Linked DNA regions of Homo sapiens: all the other regions are linked to region 7. Evidence: promoter capture Hi-C in 16 types of primary human blood cells and fetal thymus (Javierre and others, 2016). All regions are on one chromosome and are shown on one strand. Each heading gives the region's core, a stretch centred on a gene start or on the middle of the fragment in contact. The rest is flanking DNA. Distances are from core to core; before and after follow the strand shown. Region 1 holds the start of LOC105371094 (a long non-coding RNA gene). Region 2 holds the start of BFAR (bifunctional apoptosis regulator). Region 3 overlaps PARN (poly(A)-specific ribonuclease). Region 4 overlaps PARN (poly(A)-specific ribonuclease). Region 5 overlaps PARN (poly(A)-specific ribonuclease). Region 6 overlaps PARN (poly(A)-specific ribonuclease). Region 7 holds the start of ERCC4 (ERCC excision repair 4, endonuclease catalytic subunit).

What was found. The method cuts DNA at HindIII sites, captures the fragments that hold promoters and counts their contacts. A CHiCAGO score of 5 or more calls a contact.
Region 1: a contact is called between a fragment that was not itself captured here and the fragment with the promoter of ERCC4 in region 7, in 8 of 17 cell types (M0 macrophages, fetal thymus, total CD4 T cells and 5 more). The highest score is 10.9, in M0 macrophages.
Region 2: the fragment with the promoter of BFAR here is called in contact with the fragment with the promoter of ERCC4 in region 7 in 15 of 17 cell types (fetal thymus, non-activated CD4 T cells, monocytes and 12 more); the score reaches 30.4 in fetal thymus.
Region 3: a fragment that was not itself captured here is called in contact with the fragment with the promoter of ERCC4 in region 7 in 16 of 17 cell types (M0 macrophages, fetal thymus, M2 macrophages and 13 more); the score reaches 22.8 in M0 macrophages.
Region 4: a contact is called between a fragment that was not itself captured here and the fragment with the promoter of ERCC4 in region 7, in 8 of 17 cell types (M0 macrophages, naive B cells, monocytes and 5 more). The highest score is 9.0, in M0 macrophages.
Region 5: a fragment that was not itself captured here is called in contact with the fragment with the promoter of ERCC4 in region 7 in 10 of 17 cell types (naive B cells, monocytes, non-activated CD4 T cells and 7 more); the score reaches 9.2 in naive B cells.
Region 6: a fragment that was not itself captured here is called in contact with the fragment with the promoter of ERCC4 in region 7 in 14 of 17 cell types (M0 macrophages, monocytes, naive B cells and 11 more); the score reaches 13.6 in M0 macrophages.

Annotation. Positions count from the first base shown.
Region 1 is chr16:14,485,115-14,488,443 of GRCh38, forward strand. The region is part of intron 21 of PARN (poly(A)-specific ribonuclease); the gene reads right to left. LOC105371094 (a long non-coding RNA gene) reads left to right here and starts at 1,888. Exons shown (of 2, transcript XR_933105.3): 1 at 1,888-2,124; 2 at 3,029-3,329. RefSeq lists an enhancer at 554-1,489. The HindIII fragment of the contact is 2,489 bases long and covers 413-2,901 here.
Region 2 is chr16:14,631,453-14,634,523 of GRCh38, forward strand. BFAR (bifunctional apoptosis regulator) reads left to right here and starts at 1,499. Exons shown (of 8, transcript NM_016561.3): 1 at 1,499-1,566. RefSeq lists enhancers at 944-1,511, 1,512-2,081. The HindIII fragment of the contact is 17,820 bases long and covers 1,195-3,071 here.
Region 3 is chr16:14,519,620-14,522,777 of GRCh38, forward strand. All of the region lies in intron 21 of PARN (poly(A)-specific ribonuclease), which reads right to left. Among named protein-coding and RNA genes, the nearest start is that of LINC03107, 92 kb to the left of the region's middle. RefSeq lists an enhancer at 3,034-3,158. The HindIII fragment of the contact is 2,042 bases long and covers 457-2,498 here.
Region 4 is chr16:14,502,096-14,505,349 of GRCh38, forward strand. All of the region lies in intron 21 of PARN (poly(A)-specific ribonuclease), which reads right to left. Among named protein-coding and RNA genes, the nearest start is that of LINC03107, 75 kb to the left of the region's middle. The HindIII fragment of the contact is 2,832 bases long and covers 368-3,199 here.
Region 5 is chr16:14,583,059-14,586,254 of GRCh38, forward strand. PARN (poly(A)-specific ribonuclease) reads right to left here. Exons shown (of 24, transcript NM_002582.4): 15 at 1,691-1,733; 16 at 1,289-1,364. Among named protein-coding and RNA genes, the nearest start is that of PARN, 46 kb to the right of the region's middle. The HindIII fragment of the contact is 1,800 bases long and covers 1,047-2,846 here.
Region 6 is chr16:14,560,239-14,563,365 of GRCh38, forward strand. All of the region lies in intron 18 of PARN (poly(A)-specific ribonuclease), which reads right to left. Among named protein-coding and RNA genes, the nearest start is that of PARN, 68 kb to the right of the region's middle. The HindIII fragment of the contact is 2,329 bases long and covers 170-2,498 here.
Region 7 is chr16:13,918,295-13,921,482 of GRCh38, forward strand. ERCC4 (ERCC excision repair 4, endonuclease catalytic subunit) reads left to right here and starts at 1,860. Exons shown (of 11, transcript NM_005236.3): 1 at 1,860-2,078. The coding sequence starts at 1,872. All of the region lies in intron 1 of LOC105371093 (a long non-coding RNA gene), which reads right to left. LOC124903647 (a long non-coding RNA gene) reads right to left here and starts at 1,784. Exons shown (of 2, transcript XR_007065001.1): 1 at 1,385-1,784; 2 at 1,171-1,289. RefSeq lists enhancers at 1,444-1,493, 1,704-2,063, 2,104-2,313. The HindIII fragment of the contact is 6,939 bases long and covers 1-3,188 here.

The DNA.
Region 1 (3,329 bases), core at 407-2,906, 570 kb after region 7:
GTTACTGAAATGTGAGCTGAAAACAGCACACTCTGCCTCACTCAGGAGATAAGCGGTGAAAGCAGGCAGTTCTGGAGATGTGCTATTGAGTAAAGTTACTCATATCAGAGAGCCACAGAAATAGGATCCTTTCCTGAAAATCTTATTCCTTGGAACAGTTATTTTTCTTACTTTGAATGTGTCATATTTCTGTTATTTTTCACTCATTTACCCAGCCTCCCAACAATTCATATCCAATAACCATTGTCCACCCATTCTTCCATGTGGTAACTGCTTACTGAGTGTTTTTGTCCCAGGAACTATGTCAGGTATTTGGTAAATCAAGACACAATCTCCACCCTCTCTTAAAGGTCACCCTGTCACATACCAGATTTATGTAGTGGTGATTTCGCTGTAAGCTTGTCACTCCCTAAGCTTGTGACAGATTAAAATATGTTCATCTATCAATGTGGACATATGAGAACCCATTGGTTCTACCATCATTATTCTGTACCAATTGTTAACCAATGAGCATTCTCCTGGATTTTCTTCTATTTCAATTCTTTTTTTTTTTTAAGAAAGTTCTTTATTTTTATTAATATATTTATTTATTTGAGACAGTCTTGCTCTGCCGCCTACGCTGGAGTATAGTGGCGCCATCTAGGCTCATTGCAACCTCCGCCTCCCGGGTTCAAGTGATTCTCGTGCCTCAGCCTCCTGAATAGCTTAAACTATAGGCGTGCGCCACGACGCCTGGCTAATTTTTGTAATTTTCACAGAGACAGGGTTTCACCGTGTTGGCCAGGCTGGTCTCGAACTCCTGAGCTCAAGTGATTCGCCTGCCTCGGCCTCTCAAAGTGCTGGGATTATGGGCGTGAGCCACCGTGCCTGGCCTGGCTATTGCGTTCTTTAATCTAAAAGGTTTATTTTGATTTGCAAGCACACCCAAAAGGGATGACATCTGCAATAATCCCTCTGTTGCCAGGTGTGGTCGCTCATGCCTACAGTCCCAGCACTCTGGGAGGCCAAGGCAGGAGGACTGCTTGAGCCCAGGGGTTCGAGACCAGCCTGGACAATGGGGCAAAACCCCATTCTCCACACACACACAAAAAAAACCACAAAAATTAGCCAGATGTGGTGGCTTCAGACTATAGTCTCAGTTATTAGGGAGGCTGAGGTGAGAGGATTGACTGAGCCCAGGAAGTCAAGTCTGCAGTGAGCCACGATTGCACCATTGTACTCACTCCAGCTTGGGCAACACAGCAAGACCCTATCTCGAAAAAAATCCTTCTCTCAAGTTTAATTTGGATTACCAAGTAGGAGAGGAGGCTTGGGTCAATATTCCCCATGAAAGCAAAGGTGATGACAGGGTCACAGGCGAGCTGAGTTAATCTATTTAATGATATCTGATAGTTTTCAATAATTCAGCTCCCAGCTGATAGACAAATGTTACAAACAACTCCCTAACCATGGCGAGGGGATTTATCTGAGCACATTTGGAATTTAGGATCACTTAAAAGGGGAAATAAATAACAGTCCGCTTTTCACTGCTGGCCTCCACGTGGCAATAATTTACCAGCATTCCTTGAGTCCCAGCAGCTTTGCAGCTCTCGGCCTTTAATCTAGAAGCCAAGCTCTGGCTCAAAGCCACGCCTCTAATGGATGAATCAGCAAAATGAATTGGCTGTCAACTGTGTCCTCCAGCTATTCCAGCTCGCCTGTCAGAAGCAGCATGTAGCAGGCTGCTGGGTAAAACTAACCTTTTCCAAATTTGTCAGGGAAATGATTCAAGGCAATCTATCGGTCTTGCCACTTTGTGAAAGCCACTGGGGAACCAAATGTGCTAAGAGTCCTCCCTGTTTCCCTGGAGGTGAGTGGGAGCAGTTCCCTCACATAAGAGTCTCAAACACTCCGGCTTCACTGTGCCCAAGAACAGCACGGTCCGGGGTGGTCCAGTCTGATCCCAACCGGCCCACCCGGGGCATCCGGTGGAAGTCTTCGCCGGAGGATCCGAAGGCAGCATCAACGCGGTTGTCTCTTGACACTGCACACAGCATAGCATTTAATCTTCGGATGTTCTAGTCACCACACAAATAAAGAGACTGAGCATCGGAGAAACTAAACAGCTTGCCTGAGGTCTTGTAGGTAAGCAACAAAGCTGGCTTGAAACCAGGATGTGGCATTTATATATACATTTTAACAATGTTAATACTGCCACATGCCTGCTGTGTATTTATATGCATTTTGTTTATGTAGGTTGACAATTAGCTTATAAAATGCTTCCTGTATTAAGGAATTACTTAAAATGTTTAGACTTTATTGTTTTTTAAAGAACTTTCCACTACTGTCAAGCAAAGACTTTCCAACTAAGTTGATGCATTATGTTTATGAAGAGGAAGACAACATAAGATGTAGATTCCTTCCTAAATTGACTTATAGATTTACTGCAACTCCAGCAAAAATATTCCAACATTTTATTTTATTTTTTAAACAACTTCTGTGGAACAGGGCTAACTCATAGGCAGTGTGCCCAGAGTTGGCCTCCAACATTTTAATTAAATATTGAAAAAAATTAAAAGTAAGAAAAAAAAATCTCGGTAGAAAACAACAGTGGTTGTGAGAGCCTGGGGCTGGTGCTGGGGCTGGAACGGGAGAGGAAGTTGACTACAAAGAAGGGGAGGGCATTTTGAAGGTGACAGAACTATTTTATATCCTGATTGCAGTGCTGATTACATTACTGCATGCATTTGCTGAGGCACAGAACTGTACACCAAAGACGGTCACTTTATTATACATCAATTAAACCTCAGTTATTCTGGGAAACCTGAAAGATGAATTCTAAAATTAGAATAAAAGGGCCAACAATAGCTGGGACATTTCTAAAAAAGAATGGGAAGGGGGACTTGCTTTACTAGGTAAAAAAGCTTATTGTAAAGCTATAGGAATTGAGACAGTGGAGTAATGGTGCTGAGATAAACTGACCAATGGTACAGAATTCTAAGAGCCTAGAAAAACACGTATATATCTGTGAAACTTTGATTTTTGACAGAACTGCCTGGAAAAGGAAAAGCTGGAAAAATTGTTTATCCATGGGGGGGAAAAAAAAAGAAATTGGATTCTTAGTCACACCATGCCGAAAAATTCACTCCAGATGGATGAAGAGCTGAAATGTCAAAAGCAAACTCTGAGAATTTGAAAAGGAAATATAAGTGAGTATCTTTCTGAGCTTGAAGTAGGGAAGAATTTACAAAGATAGAAAAAAGGACAGGCATAAAAGAAAAGATCAATAAGTTTGGCTACATTAATATTAAAGCCTTTGTCCATCAGAAGACACTTTAAAGAGAAGAAAG
Region 2 (3,071 bases), core at 249-2,748, 710 kb after region 7:
TTCACAAAAGCCAACTATGAAAAGTTGGTTAGTGCCGGATGCGATGGCTCACGCCTGTGATCCTGGCACTTTGGGAGGCCGAGGCAGGCGGATTGCTTGAGGCCAGGAGCTCGAGACCAGCCTGGGCAACACGGTGAAACCCCATCTCTACTAAAATACAAAGAATTAGCCTGGCGTGGTGGCGCACCCCTGTAGTCCCAGCTACTCGGGAGGCTGAGGCAGGAGAACTGCTTGAACCCGGGAGGCGGAGGTTGCAGTGAGCCAAGATTGTGCCACTGCACTCCAACCTGGGCGACAGAGCGAGACTCCGTCTCCAAAACAAACAAACGAACAAAAGGAAAGTTGATTAGAAGACCTATTTTCAAAATCTATCTCAGCCACTTATTAGTTCTGGAATGCATTAAACCTTCCTAAACCTCAATTTCCTGGGATTGTATTGAGGCTCAGTGGTGCTAATGAATGTGAACTGGGAAGCAGCGTATTAATAAATCTGTATAAATAACTGTTTAATGGGGGCCTGGCGCCATGACTCACACCTGTAATCCCAGCGTTTTCGGGGGCTGAGGCAGGAGAATCGCCTGAACCCAGGAGTTCCAGACCAGCCTGGGGAAAAGAGCGAGACCCTGTCTCCATAAAAATAAAATGAAATTTTAAAATGAGCCAGGCGTGGTTGTGCACGCCCGTAGTCCCAACTATTCACGAGGCTGAGGTGGGATAATCGCTTGAACCCGGGAGGCGGAGGTTGCAGTGAGCCAAGATCGTGCCACTGTACGCCAGCCTGGCGGGTGAGAGTGAGACTCTGTCTCAAAAACAAACAACAACAACAAAACAAAACCAAATAATCAGCATAAGTTCTAGACGCTGTGACCTAGACGCTGGGAAGGGGCGAAACGTGGTGATAAGAAAACCATTTCAAGCTGTACGAGGTGGCTCACGCCTGTAATCGCAGCACTTTGTAAGGCTGAGGCAGGAGGATCCCTTGACGCCATATGTTCAAGATCAGCCTGGAAAACGCAGCGAGACCCCATCTCTACGAAAAAAAAAATATTTTAATAGAAATAAAAGTCATTTAATTCCGATTCTTAACACCGTAAATTGAACGTATAGTCCTGTGATTTTCTACATAAAATGTGAAGGCAAAAAATAACTGTAGAGAGTACGGTGCGGCCTTGTAATATTTTAATTTCTAGGCAAAGCTTGTATCCTCCGGATACAAGAACAGCCGCCCAGGAGGAGCGGAAACTGACACACACCCGTCACCCCTTGGGCTGTGACTGCCGAGCCCGGGTACTCGGTCTCTGGGTGAAGAGGAAGGGGCGGGACCGGCGGTATTACGCATGCGCCCACTTCCTCCGGCTGGGAGTGGCCGCTCTAGGCAGCGGGGAGGTCGCGGGGTTGAGGGGGGTTGTGAAAGGAGAGCGGCCTCTCCTCTATGGTCACGGGGCCGGGGCACGCTTCCCCCACTCTGTCTTGTTACTTCCGGTAGCGAAGCCTCTCCCTCTTCCTCTGCTCCCGCGGGGTCTGTGCTGAGAATAATGGCCCGGTTGGCCCGGGACGAGTGGAATGGTAAGCCGCGACACGGCTGGGGGGTGCTGAGGGGGCGACTCGGGCTTGATATCGGGGAGTGATGTGGAAGACGGAGCGGGAATCCCTTCTGCGGAGCCTCCCCAGCCGGGTCGTAGGAGGCGCGCGGGGCCTCTCCTCACGCAGGCCCGAGTCCTGAGCATCCCCACTCCTGGCCGCGGGGTTCGGACCCCAGCTTGGCCAACTGCGCTATCCCTTCCCGAGAGCCCCACGTCCGCACAGCCGGTCGCTGGGCCTCGCCTGCGTCCTTTCGGGGGTCAGGGTCAGAGCCACTCCCTCCTGGGGCTCCCTAGGGCGGGAAGGAGGAGGGGTCGCTTCCAAACACCTTGGAGGGGAACCACGGGGCGCCTGCCCGCCAGGAGCGCTTGCCACACCCTGCAACAGCCGGACCAGAATTGATGAGGCTTCTGATAGTCGCCACGCTGAGTTTACGGTCTAATTGTCGAGGCACGTTCCTGGCCTAAGGCGGAGCGATTGTGCCCATTCTTTAAAGTAGGGTGACCGAAGCGCAGAAGGGAGAAAGTGAAATCCCAAAGTCACACTGGGGCCAGGCAAGAACTCGGCTCTTCTGATTCTGCGACTTGCGGCTCGGAAATAACTTAGGCAAAAGAGAATTTTCTTTTTTTTCTTTTTAGAGACGGAGTCTTGCCCTGCCGCCCAGGCTGGAGTGCGGTGGAGCAATCTCGGCTCACTGCAACCTCCGCCTCCCAGGTTCAAGCGATTCTCTTGCCTCAGCCTTCTGAGTAGCTGGGATTACGGGCCCGCGTAACCACGCCCGGCTGATTTTTGTATTTTTAGTAGAGACGGGGTTTCACCATGTTGGTCAGACTGTTCTCGAACTCCTGGCCTCAAGTGACCCACTCGCCTCGGCCTCCCAAAGTGGGGAGATTACAGGCGTGAGCCACCGCGCCCGGCCGAGAATTGTCTTTTATTAAAAAAGCCGGCGGGAGGGGGCGACAGATGAGAGTCAGGTTGTGTCTAAACGGGGACCTTTGGAGGGGCAGGAGGCAGCATCCCAGCTTCCGCGGAAAACAGAGTGAGAGCCTAGACGCTGTTAAGCCCTCAACTGTCGCCATTGGGTCCTCCCCGCCGAAGCCCATTGGTCGGTCCTTTGCAAGGGGGGTGGTCTTGATGTCATGCTCCAAATCGCCAATAGGAAAGAGCTTTACTCTCTTCCCAGGACACACCCCCGAGCCGGCAGGGACTGCACGTGCTGATGGGGTTGTTTTGTTTGTTCTTGTCGCTGCTGTTTTCTCAACATCCAGCCTGGGTGTATCCTGACAGGTGTGCTCTGCATTTCCCTATATCCATAAACTTGATGGAGACATTGTATTTCTCCAGGGCAGTTCTTTTTGTTTGCTTTTTGGTTCCAGCGTTTGGCAGTGCCACTAAGTAGGTAGCCATCACTCAATAAATGCTGCTATTGATAATTCTGTTAATAATGCCGATCAGCCCCACACAGCAAACTTTGAGTACCTGTAGATAGT
Region 3 (3,158 bases), core at 228-2,727, 600 kb after region 7:
TGGGAGAACTGGAGCATTAGTAAGGGTCAAAACTGTGACTGACTAAATCATATTATAGATTTCTCTATGTCATTATGTCCATAAGTCCATGATGATACTAAAACAAACTAACTGGCCACTACTGTCCATTTTTAGGCAAGAATCAAACATAAATTCTGCTTTTCCTATACCAATTGCCAACCACATAGCAGACAAGTAAAAGTTTCTCTTTATAGATATATTCCAACTAATAAAAGAAAAAGGCATGCTAGAATTACAGTATCACCATATTGCAGTCTCTAATGAAATAATGGATCTAGGTTAAGCATTAACACAGCCAATAAATCACACACAAAAAGAGAGATACTAGATACTAGATGTGCTTCCTGATGGAAGAACACATCACCACCTGTGAAGCAGTCTTGCAGCCTCAAAACATCAGTTCTTATTCTGATCAAGCTTCTAGCTTTAACAACAAGCTTATATGAAAAAGGAGGACAAAAGAATATATAAAACAACATGAGAGGTGGGGAGTGGATACAATCAGTAAAGTTCAGACTGTAAGAAATGCTACAGGACGAATAACCTTGCTTCTTCAACAAACGAGGGGGTGAGGGCAGAAGAGAGACACACTGATAGATTAAGAGACACCACAGACATTTCAACAACCACCATGTGTGGCCCTTATATGAATCTTGACTTCAGTGGAAAAAGATAAACTCATGACATTTGTGAGATAACTTGAAATTTTAACAGTCTATCAATAGTTTATCATTTTAAGATATTAATGATTTATTTTTTAGGAGCAATACTAATATTGTACCTATGTTTAAAAAAATAATCTGTGGGCCAGGCATGGTGGCTCATGCCTGTAATCTCAGCACTTTGGGAGGCCAAGGTGGACTGTTTGAGCTTAGGAGTAACATATCGAAACCCCGTCTCTACCAAAAATTAGCCAGGTACAGGGACATGCACCTGTAGTCCCAACTACTAGGGAGGCTGAGGCAGGAGAACAGCTTGAGCCTGGGAGGTGGAGGTTGCAGCGAGTGGAGATCGCACCACTGCACTCCAGACTGGGTGATGGGAGTGAAACCCTGTCTCAAAAAAAAAAAAATCTGTTTTTAAGAGACACACTGGAATATTTCCCAGTGAATACAATATGGATCTAAAATATGCTTCAAAATAAAAAGTGAGAGAGCAGGTGTTCGTAGAGATGAAACAGGACTGGCCACGATTAAGTGGCTGAAGGGGTTGGGGGTGAGTACAGACTTGTCACTATATTCTTCTTTATAGTGTGTGTGTCTTGGACATTTTTTTCCACAATAAAAAGTTCAACCAAACAAACAACATGAGTGCAACAGGTTCTCCCTCAGAGCATGGAGGAGACTGGCCACTGCCACAATCATGGTGTTGGCCTCTCTGGTTACACAATGCTTTATCCTTTAATTCTCTAGTCTAGTTTCTCCAAATAGCTTCAGTAAGGTAAAAGATTTTTATCAGAACATCATTTTCACTTTCACTGCTTTTCAGCTCTATCAAGGGCTTCTGTAATGTACACTTTGGCAAACCTAAACATTCCCTTTTCTTTTTCATAAGAAAAACAAAGCAAAATAGAGTACTTGACAGACAACAGAGAATTTCCCCTTCTTTTCCCTTTAGAATAATGAAGATGAGGCTCCAAACTCAACCTCTTGCAGCCGTTCTCTGAAAGTAAACCAGGGTTGCCAAAAAGTTCTATGGCCTGCAGGTCCCTGCGTCACCCCATCCTCCAGCCCGGCAAATCTCTGACATGTGGTAAAGCCTGTGCAAAGTCACATGTCAGGAAATAAACACACAGAGCCACTCCACTGAACATCAGTTCACAGCCACAGGAACGCTTTTGCTTTCCATTTGGAATATTTGTTAAATATATGTAACGGGCCGGGCACGGTGGCTCACGCCTGTAATCCCAGCACTTTGGGAGGCTGCGGCGGGCGGATCACCTGAGGTTGGGAGTTTGAGACCAGCCTGACCAACATGAAGAAATCCCATCTCTACTAAAAATACAGAATTAGCAGGGTGTAGTGGTACATGCCTGTAATCCCAGCTACACGGGAGGGAGGCTGAGGCAGGAGAATTGCTTGAACCCGAGAAGTGGTGGTTGTGGTAAACCAAGATTGCGCCATTGCACTCCAGCCTGGGCAACAAGAGCCAAACTCCATCTCAAAAAAAAAAAAATACACGTAACCACCACCTATTGACGTTTCAGTCAACAGTGGACCCCCTTATACATGGTGGTCCCATAAGATTATGATACTGTATCTTTTCTATGTTTAGATATACAAATACCATTGTATTACAACTGCCTACTGTATTCAGTACAGTAACATGCTGTACAGGTGTGCAGCCTAGAAGCAACAGGCTACTCCTTGTAGTCTAGGACTGCAGTAGGCTGTACCATATAGGTTTAAGTACACAACGATGTTCACACAACGAAAATGCCTAACAACACATTTCTCAGAAGGTGGCCCCTGTTACTAAGCTTATGACTGTATTACTAAGGAGCTAAGTCAAAGGTAAAAATAGTCCAGCAGGTAAAAACAAGAAAAGCTCAAACACCAATACTACAGAGAGATCTTTAGCCACAAACATCATTTGCACATCAAGAACCAAACAGAATTGGGGTGCAGGTGAGGAGGTGGGCTGAGCTAAGGTAGAGCCTCTTCCCACTAGGAATGTAAAGGAGTATTAAAGGATAATTAGAACTTTTTTTCCTAAATGCACAAATCTCAGGTGTCAGAAATAAGAGAGAAAAGAGCTGGGCATGGTGGTATACACCTGAAATCTAGCTACCTGGGAGGTTGACGCAGGAGAATGGCTTGAGTCCTGGAGTTTAAGGTCAGCATGGGCAGCACAGTGAGACTTGGTCTCTTAATAAGAGGGAAGCAGGAAGGGGAGAAATAAGAGAAAATGTAAAGCCAGGGCTTAAGAGAAAGAGTGGGCTGGGGCAGCCCTGGTGGAAAAAAGGGGAAAACAAGACCAGGTACAGGGGACAATATCCAGAAGTCACAAAGACCCAGACATGGCCTCAGACCTGTGTGGCACAGGAAGCTGGAACAAGGTCCCTGCATCAAGATGGGCACACAGAAAGGCTGCCCCCTCCAAGTGAAGAAGGCAAGAACAACAACCAGCCCAGAGAA
Region 4 (3,254 bases), core at 534-3,033, 580 kb after region 7:
AAGGCCACATGCCTCTCTGGGCAACTGTTTTCTTATCTTTGAACTGAGATGCTTTCCACAGTTGGCTTCAGGGAAAGCATCTAAGACTGGAGTCACAACAGAGTATTCACGCATGGGGCAAGGGGTGGGGACGCTAAAGCTGAACTTTGCCTTTAGTTAAAATTACCCTTGAAACTTCTTTCTTCACACTGGAGAACATGCGTCTCTCAGTGAAGCCAACACAGCTGGTTTTTCCTCCAGGGTCAGAACACACTACTGTTTCTCCTCTAGGACATCAGAGGAAGACGATGGCTTGCATGTGAGCACCATGTTATTAAACACACATGTACACACATGTGTGAACACACATGGTTTATAACCAGCAGGAAGCTTGCTACAAGAAGAGTGTGAAAGTTGATATTCACAAGGAAGGGGCAGAATCTACATCTCCCATTTCATCTCCAACTCACTGGGATAAGGATAAATACTTTTGCTGAGTGAAGTGACAAGCAAAACCAGTCTCACACCCTAAAAAATAATTAGCCACATCAAGTACATTTGAATTCACACAAGTTTCAAAATGTTATGATGTAACTCTACTTGGTACCTAGCAAATATACGATCTAAGCCTCTGTGCCTGTCCTCTGGTCACATGTACCCAAGCTAGTTCTCTGAAGACAAGGAAGGTGTTTTAGCTATTCTATACCTCCAGTGATATTTCTTCAGGAGAGAACAGCTAATACAGCTACTTCTCTCTGCTTCCGAACAGCCCTGGGCTTGCAATTACTACAAGCCACTGAAGAACCACGGCTTAACTTCTTAGGGCATGGATTTTACCAGAGATCAGGGAGGAAAAATTAAATAATTAATCTGGCAATTTAAAACAAATTAATATTAAAGTAAAATGGACATATTGCAGAATAGCATTTTTTTAAATTGTGAGAATGGTTTAAATAAAACATAAGACGGTAGAGATATTTCACCTTCTGCCCCCCTCACCCCGCTGCGCCCCTGAGTGCTCCTATCCACGCTGCTTTGGTGTTGTTTGAGAAGAACCTCCCCCCACAGAGGCACTGATACTAGCTGAATGGATTCTCCTTTCTGGGGAATGAGAACACCAGAAAGGAAAAGAGACTTCCACCTTCTCTTCTTGGCAGCAAGGAGGTGAATGTAATGTCCACATGAGGGTAGTTTATACATGTCAATTTGTATTCTAGGTGCACAAACAACACTCAGAGAGCTGTAAGGAGTTCTCTGTGGTTAGAAGCAATTCTGAAAAGAGCTGACTCATATGAGAAAAGCGTAATGCAGTATCTATTTCTTTTAGCAAAGGTGATAGAAACGCACGTATCATGAATATGTCATGCAAGGAAAGATGAGGGCAGCCTAAGCTGAGAAGGTGTTCAAATAAATTTCCTGTTTGAAAGGGATTATGATACTGCTCTTTTCCCTACCTACCTGTGGACACAACAGAAAGGTGGGAATCCTGTCCTATAAATTCAGGTTCTGGCCCTCATTTGCCCTACAAGTATTTCTTAGCCAAGGTGAAGTGGTCACCCGTGCATCTACCAAAATGGTCTGGACCACTGACTGGGCAGGTTTTGAGAAGCACGGTCACCTGCCTCAGGGTGGTAGCTATCATTTCCTGAGATTATATCACAGGTAGTACACGCTGCCAATGCTGTAGGCTCTGTTACCCTCACTTTATACAGAAAACTGAAGACCCTGTTGAATGGCTTGTCCATAGTCTTGCAGCTGGTATAAGGAGAACTGGAATACAAATTCAAGATGTTTCAATCATACAATGCTGCAAGGAGCTGATGTCAAGGAAGATACAAAGTAATGACCACCTACTCTGCTAGCAGATGGTGGTAAATTGTTCTTAGAAGCAGTGAACCAAGGGCATGATATCAACAGTCCTTGTGTGTGCCTTCTTCAGCAGAGAGGTCTACTGACTGTCAGTGAGTGTTCTGTCTAAACGAGAAGGGGCTTAGAGAGGATCATATCCTTTGACCTAGTAATTCCTCTTTTAGGAAATCATCCTATGAAAACAATCTGAAATGAGGACTAATTTTTAATGCACAAGGATACGTAAATTTTTAAATTAAAAATGTCTTCAAAACACAAACAAATGTTTAATAGTAGGAGAATAGTTAAATAATTATGCTATTCATATTCATTAAAAATTATGTGAGGTTGAGGGAGGCCGGCACGGTGGCTCACACCTGTAATCCCAGCACTTTTGGCGACCGAGGTGGGTGAATCACGAGGTCAGGAGTTGGAGATCAGCCTGGCCAACATGGTGAAACCCTGTCTCTAATAAAAATACAAAAAATTATCCGGGCATGGTGGCATGAGCCTGTAATCCCAGCTACTCGGGAGGCTGAGGCAGGAAAATAGCTTGAACCCAGGAGGCGGAGGTTGCAGTGAGCAGAGATTGCGCCATTGCACTCCAGCCTGGGTGACAGAGCAAGACTCCGTCTCAAAAAATAAATAAATAAAATAAATAAAAATTACGTGAGGGAGAAAGTAGGGAGAGGGGAGAAAAAATACGCTTTCAAAGCAATAATAACCAAACAAAATATAATCAATAAATTCTCTGGCTAGCTATTTGGGAAAAAGTAACATGAATGCCTCTCTCATAGGTTATACCATTGACTCAATCAACAAATATTTGCTGATCACCTATTTTAAGCATTGAGAAAAACTTAGAATAAAAAAATCTTTGCCCTCCTAAGACAATTCGTTAAGCAGTACAGTTTCATATGGGTATTTTCCTATATGTATGTTAAGCCTCCATTTAAAAGTTAAAATAAAAAGCCTGACTTCATGGATCTTACATTCTAGTGGTGAGATATAGACACTAAACAAAAAAGTAAAATATACAGTGTACGTGCAGTGCTATGGAGAAAACAAAAAGCAGGCAGTACTGAGATGTGGGTTGTGATTTTAAATTAAGTGGTCAGGGAAAGTCTTACTGATAAAGTTACCACATAACAATGCAAGATGCCAAATTTCAGATAAATTACATATCACTGTTTAGTATATCATACAATATTTGGCACACAGCTATTTTAAGTGAAATCTGGCAATCTTACTTACTGAAAGGCAAGTGAACAAACCTCATTCCTAATAAATTAAATGTTAATGCTTCTGAATAGGACACTAAAGCCAGAAACTATAAAAGAATAAACTGACAGATATACTATGGAAAATGTAAAGCTTTGGTTCGGCAACATAGGCTAGATTAAGAATAGCTGGGCACAGTGGCGCAC
Region 5 (3,196 bases), core at 697-3,196, 660 kb after region 7:
TCGAACTTGCTATAATGCTGGCCTTGGATCATGGAACCACTTTACAGCAAAGACCGCTTTATATACAATATGGTTCTTTTGTGACATTGATAAATACAGATGTGACCAGATAAACTATAAGAGGAATGACCTGCTTTAGACTGAATTCTCTACCAGATACCACTATTTTATATGGAAATAATAACATAAAACTATAACTCATAAATAATTATATCCTAGAACCATTCTGGAAATGAATGTCAGGAAGGTTACTATAACACAGAATCAAAAGCATAAATGGAAATTAACAATGAAAAGGCTGTAACTGTTTTTATGTCAATACAATGCTCTTTAAGCAAGAATTCTTTAACTCCATATTAAATATTAGACTTGATGCCTTTAAAAAAAAGCCTTTTAACATGGTAGCCACCTAAGTAATATCTTCCACTCCATCATCAACTGAGACACATTCTTTCCAAAATCAATTATTTCCATTATATTGTTATAGAAAAGGTCCACGTTTTCTCCCCCAATGGCCCCACCACCACTTTTCTTAATTCCTTTCTTGGACTATTACCCAGAAAGGGGCAAATAACTGTAATCTTGGCTGCTTTAATACTTTGCATTATCAATTTCTAAACCATTAGTCCTATTATCCATGTCTTTAGAAGTTTTCAGGCTACAACTAATGGCTCGCTAATCACCGTATCAGCAGCACAATCAGGTTAACAGGGACCAAGGAAGTAGCACCTGGTAGGCTCTCCACATACCTTGGTGGTGGCCCGAGGTGGCAAAACACCTCCATCTCATCTCCCTACTTCTGGTTTTCCTCAGTGCTGCTGTTTCTACTCTCTAAACCAGCTGAAAAGGAGGCAGGGTGGGGACTTGCCTTAATCTCACCTGTAAATCCAGTTCTCGGGCTTTTCTGAGATGGAAAATATATTTTTTACTCTACCCCTGGTGATTAATCACTAGCTCTTTGTCTCTGCTTCAATAATGTATGAAAGAATAAAAGGGCACATCAAGTTTTAGGAGAATTCCATATTATTAGAAAATAGAAGCCTTGAAGCTTTAATTGCTAAAATTCTCAATGAATGGCTACCCAACTCCATTAACATAAAATATATGTAGAATTAAAAGACCATCTTTATTCAAAAAACAATAATTCAACACACGGTACGTGCAAGTGAATTCAGCCAAAATCTATAAATGAACAATACGGTCTCCAGAGCCATTCTGCTTTTCTTCTACAATATACATCAATAATTATTACAAAGAGTTTGGAGGGTTTCCGGTTTAATATTCTTACCAACTTTAGGAGGGTTGAAAGGTGTCTCTTTTAACCGCTTTTCCAATTCCGCAAGGGATGTGTTGTTAATGATATCCTGCAAACCACGAAGCAAAGAATTATGAGATTTCATCATCTCAGAACAATATATTAAAGAGATTCACTGACCCCCCCAAAAAAAAGACAGCATCTAGTACTGTCTCCTTGTGTTCTTTAAAGAAACACAGAAGTCTTCGTTTTTTTCAATGTGAAAGAGAAGCAGCTAGTTTAATTTTTATAATATACAAAGTATAACCAAATGAATAAAGATCTTTACAGATGCATTAAATACCTCCAAACCTTTTGCCAGAAGGCTATATTGTTCTGGCATTCATTTCACTCAGTAATATGCAGTCGCTTTATAAAGTAGCAAATGAATAATACCTTAAAAGGTTGTGTGCTGGCCATCAATTTAGTATCCAAGAGTCTAAAAAGAATTTTTAACAAGGTAAACAAAATGTATATCAATGTTTAAAATGTCTTTTACTCAAATATGTAAGCTACTTAAAATACTTCATACATAAAAAACATAATTAAAACATAAAATGTTTAATACAGAAAATACTTAAACACAGACAAAGTAATTAAACACATTGGCCATTTTGAACCCAGCACCAGCATCCCTGCTACGTTGGAGTAGGTACTCAGTCCCATCATCAGCGACTTCATTGAGCAACTGCAGGAGAGTCCACACTTGGAGTACAAGTTCTAGATTCACCTGGATCCTCAGAGAGCCTGGGCTCCATCAATCTCAAGGGTGAGTCAAATACTCTCACATGGTTTTACGTGGTTCAAATACTGCTGCCGGTCTACCATTCCCAAACTGCTACCATCTACTCCTACTCCTCAGGTTTGTAAACTATAAATTCTTCTGCAGGGCCAAAATCTACAATCAGTACTTTCACGCTGTTGTTTTTATTTCTTATTATTCTATTTCAGAGATCAGAAACACCAAAAGGGGAGGGTGGGGAGAAACCCACATGAAAACTCTATTTCTCTGTTTTTTTTTTTTTTTTTTTTCATATAAATGTGAACAGAGTGGGTAACAGGACAGAAATAAGCCCAGCTGAAAGAGAAACTGCTCGAACACCACGCCTATCCCTCTTCAACAGGTCCTAAGACACAAACACTTGTTCGGTAGGCTCCACATGGCTGACCTATGATGTCTCAGAGATATGTGACATATGACCTATCAGAACAAGGGGGCAATAATAACTATGGAAAACACCAACAGGAAAAGGCACTGACTTGAAGTGGATGAAAAACAAAATCTCTAGCCAGATGGACAGTTCTTGACTGACTCTTGAACACTCTCAATTGGACACTTCAATAGTTACAAGGTACATCCTACATGCAAGACAGACAAGAGCCATCTCAAGGAGGCTTCAACAGTTCTTCAGACAGCAAGATGAGAGATAAGAAAAAAGGAGTCGTTGGTCTACTTTCACTCTCAGTTCAAACTGTGATTTTTTGATAACAAAACCAATCATAAATTATAAAAGCAAGCCATCACAACATTGGAGACATTAAATAAGTTCCAAGCTTATATGAACATGATCTAATGGTTTTAACAAATTACTATATACCTATTTGTATTGTGTATGTCACAATGACTCTTTTTTTTTTTTTTTTTTTTGAGACAGGATCTCACTCTGTCACCCAGGCTGGATAGTAGCACTATTATGGCTCACTGCAACCTGGACCTCCTGGGTTCAAGCAATTCGCCCACTTCAGCCTCCTGAGTAGCTGGACCACACGTATCCCACCACACCCAGCTAATTTTTTATTTTTTATAGATATGTGGTTTCACTATGTTGCCCAGGCTGGTTCTGAACTCCCTAGGCTCAAGTGATCCTCCCACCTCAGTCTCCCAAAGTGGTGGGATTATAG
Region 6 (3,127 bases), core at 84-2,583, 640 kb after region 7:
TGTATTGAAGAACAATCTCTCCCAGAAGGACTTTCATCTGCAGATATCAAAAAGACACTCAGACTAACACTTGCACGAAACGTTCTTTCTATTTTAGCAAAGATCCGAGAGGGTGTAACACGGTAAAGACCCTCAAGACTGCGTGCGGGTATCTTGCCACATTTCTGAAAGCTTTCTGATGAAATATTATTTCCCCACTTATTCTCTAAAGGACTGACATTAACTTTATCAAACACTAAAATTAAAATTCCCATTAAATACAATGGCTAATTTTACAAAAGAATTCTATCCTAAGAAACAGTGTAACTCAAGTTCACATTCTAGATGTCATAGAGCAAGTTTTAACCTTTGTGGAATCTGTCATTTTTTAAATGTTGTATGAGTATATCACTGGCAGTGCTTGTTATCCTGGCTTTCAAACAAGTCTGGAAAGACTCCAGGGTAAAGCACAGCATACCAGGATCTTTTGCTCAATACACTGGGTCACTTCCACTCAGTCTCTTCACAGGCTACACAGCATACGCTACACAATACCTTTAGCTCCAAAGAGCCACCACCTCATCTCCATTACCCATGTGCTGGGTGGCACTCACAAAAAGCCACCCTCCAAACTTTTTTGTGAAACAGGCGGTATAGGCCGGGCGCGGTGGCTCACGCCTATAATCCCAGCAATCTGGGAGGCCGAGGCAGGTAGATCACCTGAGGTCAAGAGTTCCAGACCAGCCTAGCCAATGTGGTGAAACCTCGTCTCTATTTAAAAATACAAAAATTAGCTGGGTATGGTGGCGGGTGCCTGTAATCCCAGCTACTTAGGAGGCTGAGGCAGGAGAATCGCTTGAACCCAGGAGGCGAAGGCTGCAGTGAGCCGAGATTGCACTGCTGCACTCCAGCCTAAGTGATAAGAGCAAAACTCCGTCTCAAAAAAAAAAAAAAAAAAGAAAAGGGCGGGATGACACTGTGTCCCAGGCTGCCTAAGAAGGCTCATTAGTTACTGAAGAATTTCATTTCAGATATATAACTCTAGAATATAGAACCTTGAACCGTTAGCAAAATGTGCTTCCCCGCCAACTGGATCAGCATCACCTGGGAACTTGTTAGAGATGCAAATTCCCAAGCGCCATCCAAGACTCCTGACTCAGAAACTCTGGACTGAGAATCACCGAGTTAACAGGAAAACAGTATATTCAATGTGGTGTTGTTAATTACCACTAAAGATGATGCAGCAATCAGCTGGATAATGACTTGTGCCAACTTCTCCAAAAGATATTAGTCTTAATGATTTGTTTATATTAAATCATTCTGTGGCTCATCCCTGTTAATCCCACTGCTTCGGGAGGCAGAAGTGGGAGAATTACTTGAGGCCTGGAGTTTGAGATCAGTCTGAGCAACATGGTGAGACTCCTGTCTTTACAAAAAGTAAATTAGCCGGGCAAGGTGGCTCGTGCCTGTAGTCCCAGCTACTCAGGAGGCTAAGGCAGCAGGATTGTTTGACTCCATGAATTTGAGGCTGCAATGAGCTATAACATGCCACTGCACTCCAGTCTGGGCAACAGAGAAAGACCCTGTCTACACAATAAATAAACAATTAAATGAACAAACCATAAATAAAATACGTAGAAAAACACAAAACTGGCCAGCCACAGTGGCTTACGCCTGTAATCCCAGCACTCTGGGAGGCTGAGGCAGGTGGATCACTGGAGGTCAAGAGTTCCAGACTGGCCTTGCCAATATGGCAAAACCCCATCTCTACTAAAAATACAAAAATTAGCCAGGGGTGGTGGCGCACGCCTGTAATCCCAGCTACTCGGGAGGCTGAGGCAGGAGAATCGCTTAAACCTGGGAGGCAGAGGTTGCACCATTACACTCCAGCCTGGGGAACAGAGTGAGACTCCATCGCAAAAAAAGAAAAGAAAAGTACAAAACTTTGACACATAAAATTTTAAAAAAGAAAAAAACTGCCAAGCATAGTGGCTCATGCCCGTAATCCCAGCACCTGGGGAGGCCAAGGCAGGCAGATCAGAGTTTGAAACCAGCCTGGGCAACATGACTGCTACAAAGAAATACAGAAAATTAGCCAGGTGTGGTGGCACATGCCTGTAGTCCGAGCTACTTGGGAGGCTAAGGCAGGAGGAGCCCCTGAGCCTGAGAGGTGGAGGTTGCAGTGAGCCTGGGGGTCAGAGCGGGACTCTGTCTCGAAAAAAAAAAAAAAAAAAACTATGAATAAAAAAAAGAAAAACATAAAACTATTAAATACCAAGGACTACCTCAAAATCCAGAAGGCAGTAACATAAGCCTTCTACCACTCCTTGAAACCAGGAGGCCAAACTGTAGCATGCAACTAGGTTCTCTGCAAGAGATAAATTGGGTGAAATTACTGCTGACAGCTACCACTCTTGTTTTTAAGTAGATTTAAAAAAAAAAAAAAAATTACTCAAACTACTCTCTTGGCAACTCATTAGCAAAAGTCTAACCTGTTTCTGTGAATTGGCCACAAATTAAGCTTTAGCCACTAATGCAGCACTAAAGATTAGCAAACACTTGAGGGAGTAACACACACAATACAAAAGAATCAGACACCTCTAACATTAGCAAAATCCTCCACCCTTACCACAAAGCTTCAGACACAGATTATGTTAAGTACAAGCACAGATCAAAGGTTATTCTATGATGACACAATGGCTTGCCTTGGACTGTGGCTTATCTAAGCCATTCCCTAGTAGTCCGGTGAATATTAAGTGGGTTGCAAAACAATGCTGCTATTAACCCATTTCACGCAGCTATGCTCAAGAAAACGAAGTATGATATTCAAAAATGCATGCAAGCAGTCCTAAAGGTGATTCAGGAATACTTTGGATGGAGACTCAAACCTCTGAGAACTGAAAAGATCATTATAGTTCTTTCAAATTCTACATTACCAAATCTATCTACAAAATCACAGATTTGATTCACAAAGGAAAGGAAATACTTAGTTTTGCTCCTGAGGCAGCAGGCTTTCCAGTCCTAAAACTGATGGCAGAGGAGGAGCGTGAATCAGACAGGCGGCCACTTTAAGAAGCAGTTAGCAAAAAATGGTCACGCCTAGTGTTGGAGCCAGTGCAGTGCAAGGCAAGCATGTACTGACAAGAGC
Region 7 (3,188 bases), core at 610-3,109:
TCTTTCTCTTATAAGCACATTTGTGATACATTGAGCCCACCTGGATAATCCATATAATCCCCCCATCTCAAGAACCTTAACATACTCACATCTGCAAACCCCCCTTTGCCACATAAAACAACCTACAGGCTCCAGGGATTAGGATATGAACATCTTTGGGAAGCCGATATTCTGCCTACCACCGCTTGGGAGTCAGGTTTGAATTTCAGCTTTGTCATTTCAATCTTCATTTCCTAAATATGTGTTGAGTACCCCCATATCACGTCCTGAAATAGATCTAAGAAATACACTAACTAGCTCCCGTGGCCTTGCCCAAGTTATATAACCTCCCTGCACCTCCATTTTTCTCACTGGCAGAACTGACGAGATTAATATCTGCCTCAGAGGAAACGCTGTATGTAAAGTGTCTGCCGGCAACCCTTTCCACTTAAACAGCATTCAGGAATTATATGCTATTTTCATCTTGACAAAATGTAAGCAAAATACCAGATTAAGCAGTAAAGAGGTAGAGGAACAGATCCTCTTGGAAACGGCTAGTGTGAATGTGAATTGGTATAGGCTTTCTAGAGGGCAATGTGGCAATGTGAATGGAATGAAAAGCCTTACAAATTTTTTTCTCTTTATCCCAGTGATTATTCATTTCTAGACGTGTATCTGAAGGCCACGGCTGAATTTACATACAAAGATGTTTAGTGAAATATTATTTATATTACTGGAAGGGAAAAAGCAGAAACAGACTAAATGTCCTCTAATAAGCAATTAGGTAAGTACACCCACATAATGGAAATCTCATCAGCCATATAAAAGGACTTTGTAAAAGAATATGAAACATCATGTTCAGAGGTTTGCCAAATGTTAATGACAAAGCTGGGGATTTAAATCAGGGATATTAATTATCTCGTGTCGGTAAAAGAACTCCGTGTGATGAGAGAATGTGTATATAGATAGAAAAAAAAGGACTAAATAAAATAGATTTCGTGATGTTAACAGTGGTTATTTCCAAGTAATGGAAACAAGTGATTTTCATTTTTGTTTACTTGTATTTTCTATTTTCTAATAACAAAGGTGGGGGGTTTCTATACAAAACAATTCCTCTACTAGTTCAACTATCAGGCATTTCTAGGTATAGAACAAACACTGCGGGAGGTGTCCCTCTAGTGGAAGGAGGGATTTTTAAAAATAGTTTATTGTATTGAAGTCTTTGGGAGGCAAACAGAGGTCTGAAGTCAGTAAATGATTCTGCTTATTCCACAGCCACTGCACTCCAGCCTGGGCAACATATCAACATCCTGTCTCGGGAAAGAAAAAAAAAATTAAAAGAAGGATGGGGAGTAATCGCAAAAGGAAGGGCCAAAAACCACCCTAGGAAACAGGTGCTACTAACTCTTGGCGCATTTGGAATATTGACCAGTAACTTTTTCAACTGTCGATGTCGGGGGATTAAGCTCCTTAGGCTTACTTCCCCTTCCCTTGCTTTTTGGCAGCTTGAGGCTAGGGTGCCAGGGGATGTGGAAACTCAAAAGAGACGTGAATGGAGCCTGATATCTGCAAGCTACACCGACAGGGGGCGCCAGCCCCTACAGGTGACTCCATGAATCTTCGGCTCCACTCGGCTCTTCTTCGGCTGAGTTCGGCCAACGCTTGCCTTCTCAGGCTCGGCTCTCTTCGGCTTTCTGAGAGCGCGCCTGTCGTGGCCTCGGCTCCTCTTCGGCTGCGTTCGGCCCACGATCATCTCAGTCTCAGCTCTCCTCGGCTACGTTCGGCTGGCTGCCGTCCTCTCGGACTCGGCTCTCTTCGGTTGAGTTCGGCCTACTCTCCACTAGGAGTCGGCTTCCTTCGGCTGCGTTCGGCTGCGACCCGGAAGAGCTTCCATGGAGTCAGGGCAGCCGGCTCGACGGATTGCCATGGCGCCGCTGCTGGAGTACGAGCGACAGCTGGTGCTGGAACTGCTCGACACTGACGGGCTAGTAGTGTGCGCCCGCGGGCTCGGCGCGGACCGGCTCCTCTACCACTTTCTCCAGCTGCACTGCCACCCAGCCTGCCTGGTGCTGGTGCTCAACACGCAGCCGGCCGAGGAGGTGCGGCCGCGCTGGCGCGGGAGTGAGGGGACTCCGAGAGTGTTGAGGGCCTCCTGAGCGGATGCGAGGCCTCTGACAGGGATGGAGGGGCTCTGAGGGGGATTCAGGCCCCTGACACTACGCGATGACACAGAGAAGGATGGCAGGGGTCCCCAGGGGGATGCAGGTCCCTCACACTGCGGGAACACAGACGTATGTAAGGGGTCGCTAGGAGGATACCGGTCGCTCACACCGTGCGGGGACACTGATAAGAATTGGAGGGGCCCCGAGAAGGCTGCAGGTCCCTGGCAGGAGTTGAAGAACACTAAGAGGAATGCCAGTCCCTGACACTGTGCGGGGACTCTGAGAGGGAAGGGAGGGGTCCCAAGAAGGATGCAAGTCTTTGACCAGAGTTCAAGAACACTAAGAGAAATGGGAGGGGTCCCCAGGGGATGCGGGTCCCTGACACTGTGCAGGCACAGTGAGAATGATGGAAGGGGTCCCGAGAAGGATGCAATTCCCTGACAACACTAAGAGGGATGGGAGGGGTCCCCAGAAGGATGCAGGTCCCTGACATGGGTGCAAGGGCACTGAAAGGTGAAGGGGCTCTGAGTGGTAGGAGAGGATCGGAGGTCGCTGCAGGGGAGGGGGAGATGTCGGAAGGAGGATCTGGATAGGAATAACGGGAGAGTCCTGAAGTTGGCCATTAAGGGAGTTTCTGGGGGCAGAAGGAAGGTCCCTGAAAGGGAACAGTGATGAGGATGGAAGATCTCTGAGGGTGATGGGGAGACATGAAAGGAGATGCTGAGGCGCTGGAAAAACCCCAATAGGGAAAAGGAGGGACCAGGAAATAGGACATTCACCAAGGCTGTGTTAAGAGGGCCATAGGGTCAGAAAGGGATTGGAGCTTGACGCTGAGGATGTTGGCAAAGGTTAACTACAGTTAAGGACAATGGAGAACACTGAGAAAGATGGAATGGGGCTACACATGGGTCTGAGGGGTGTTGAGAGGGGACACAGCTTGGTCGGACAAGTCTGATGATCCCCTAGATATATCAGGTGGCCGGGAGAAAAATGTCAGCTGAGAAGAGTGACCACAGTCTCTTTGAGGGCAGGGATCCTGTTTGATTC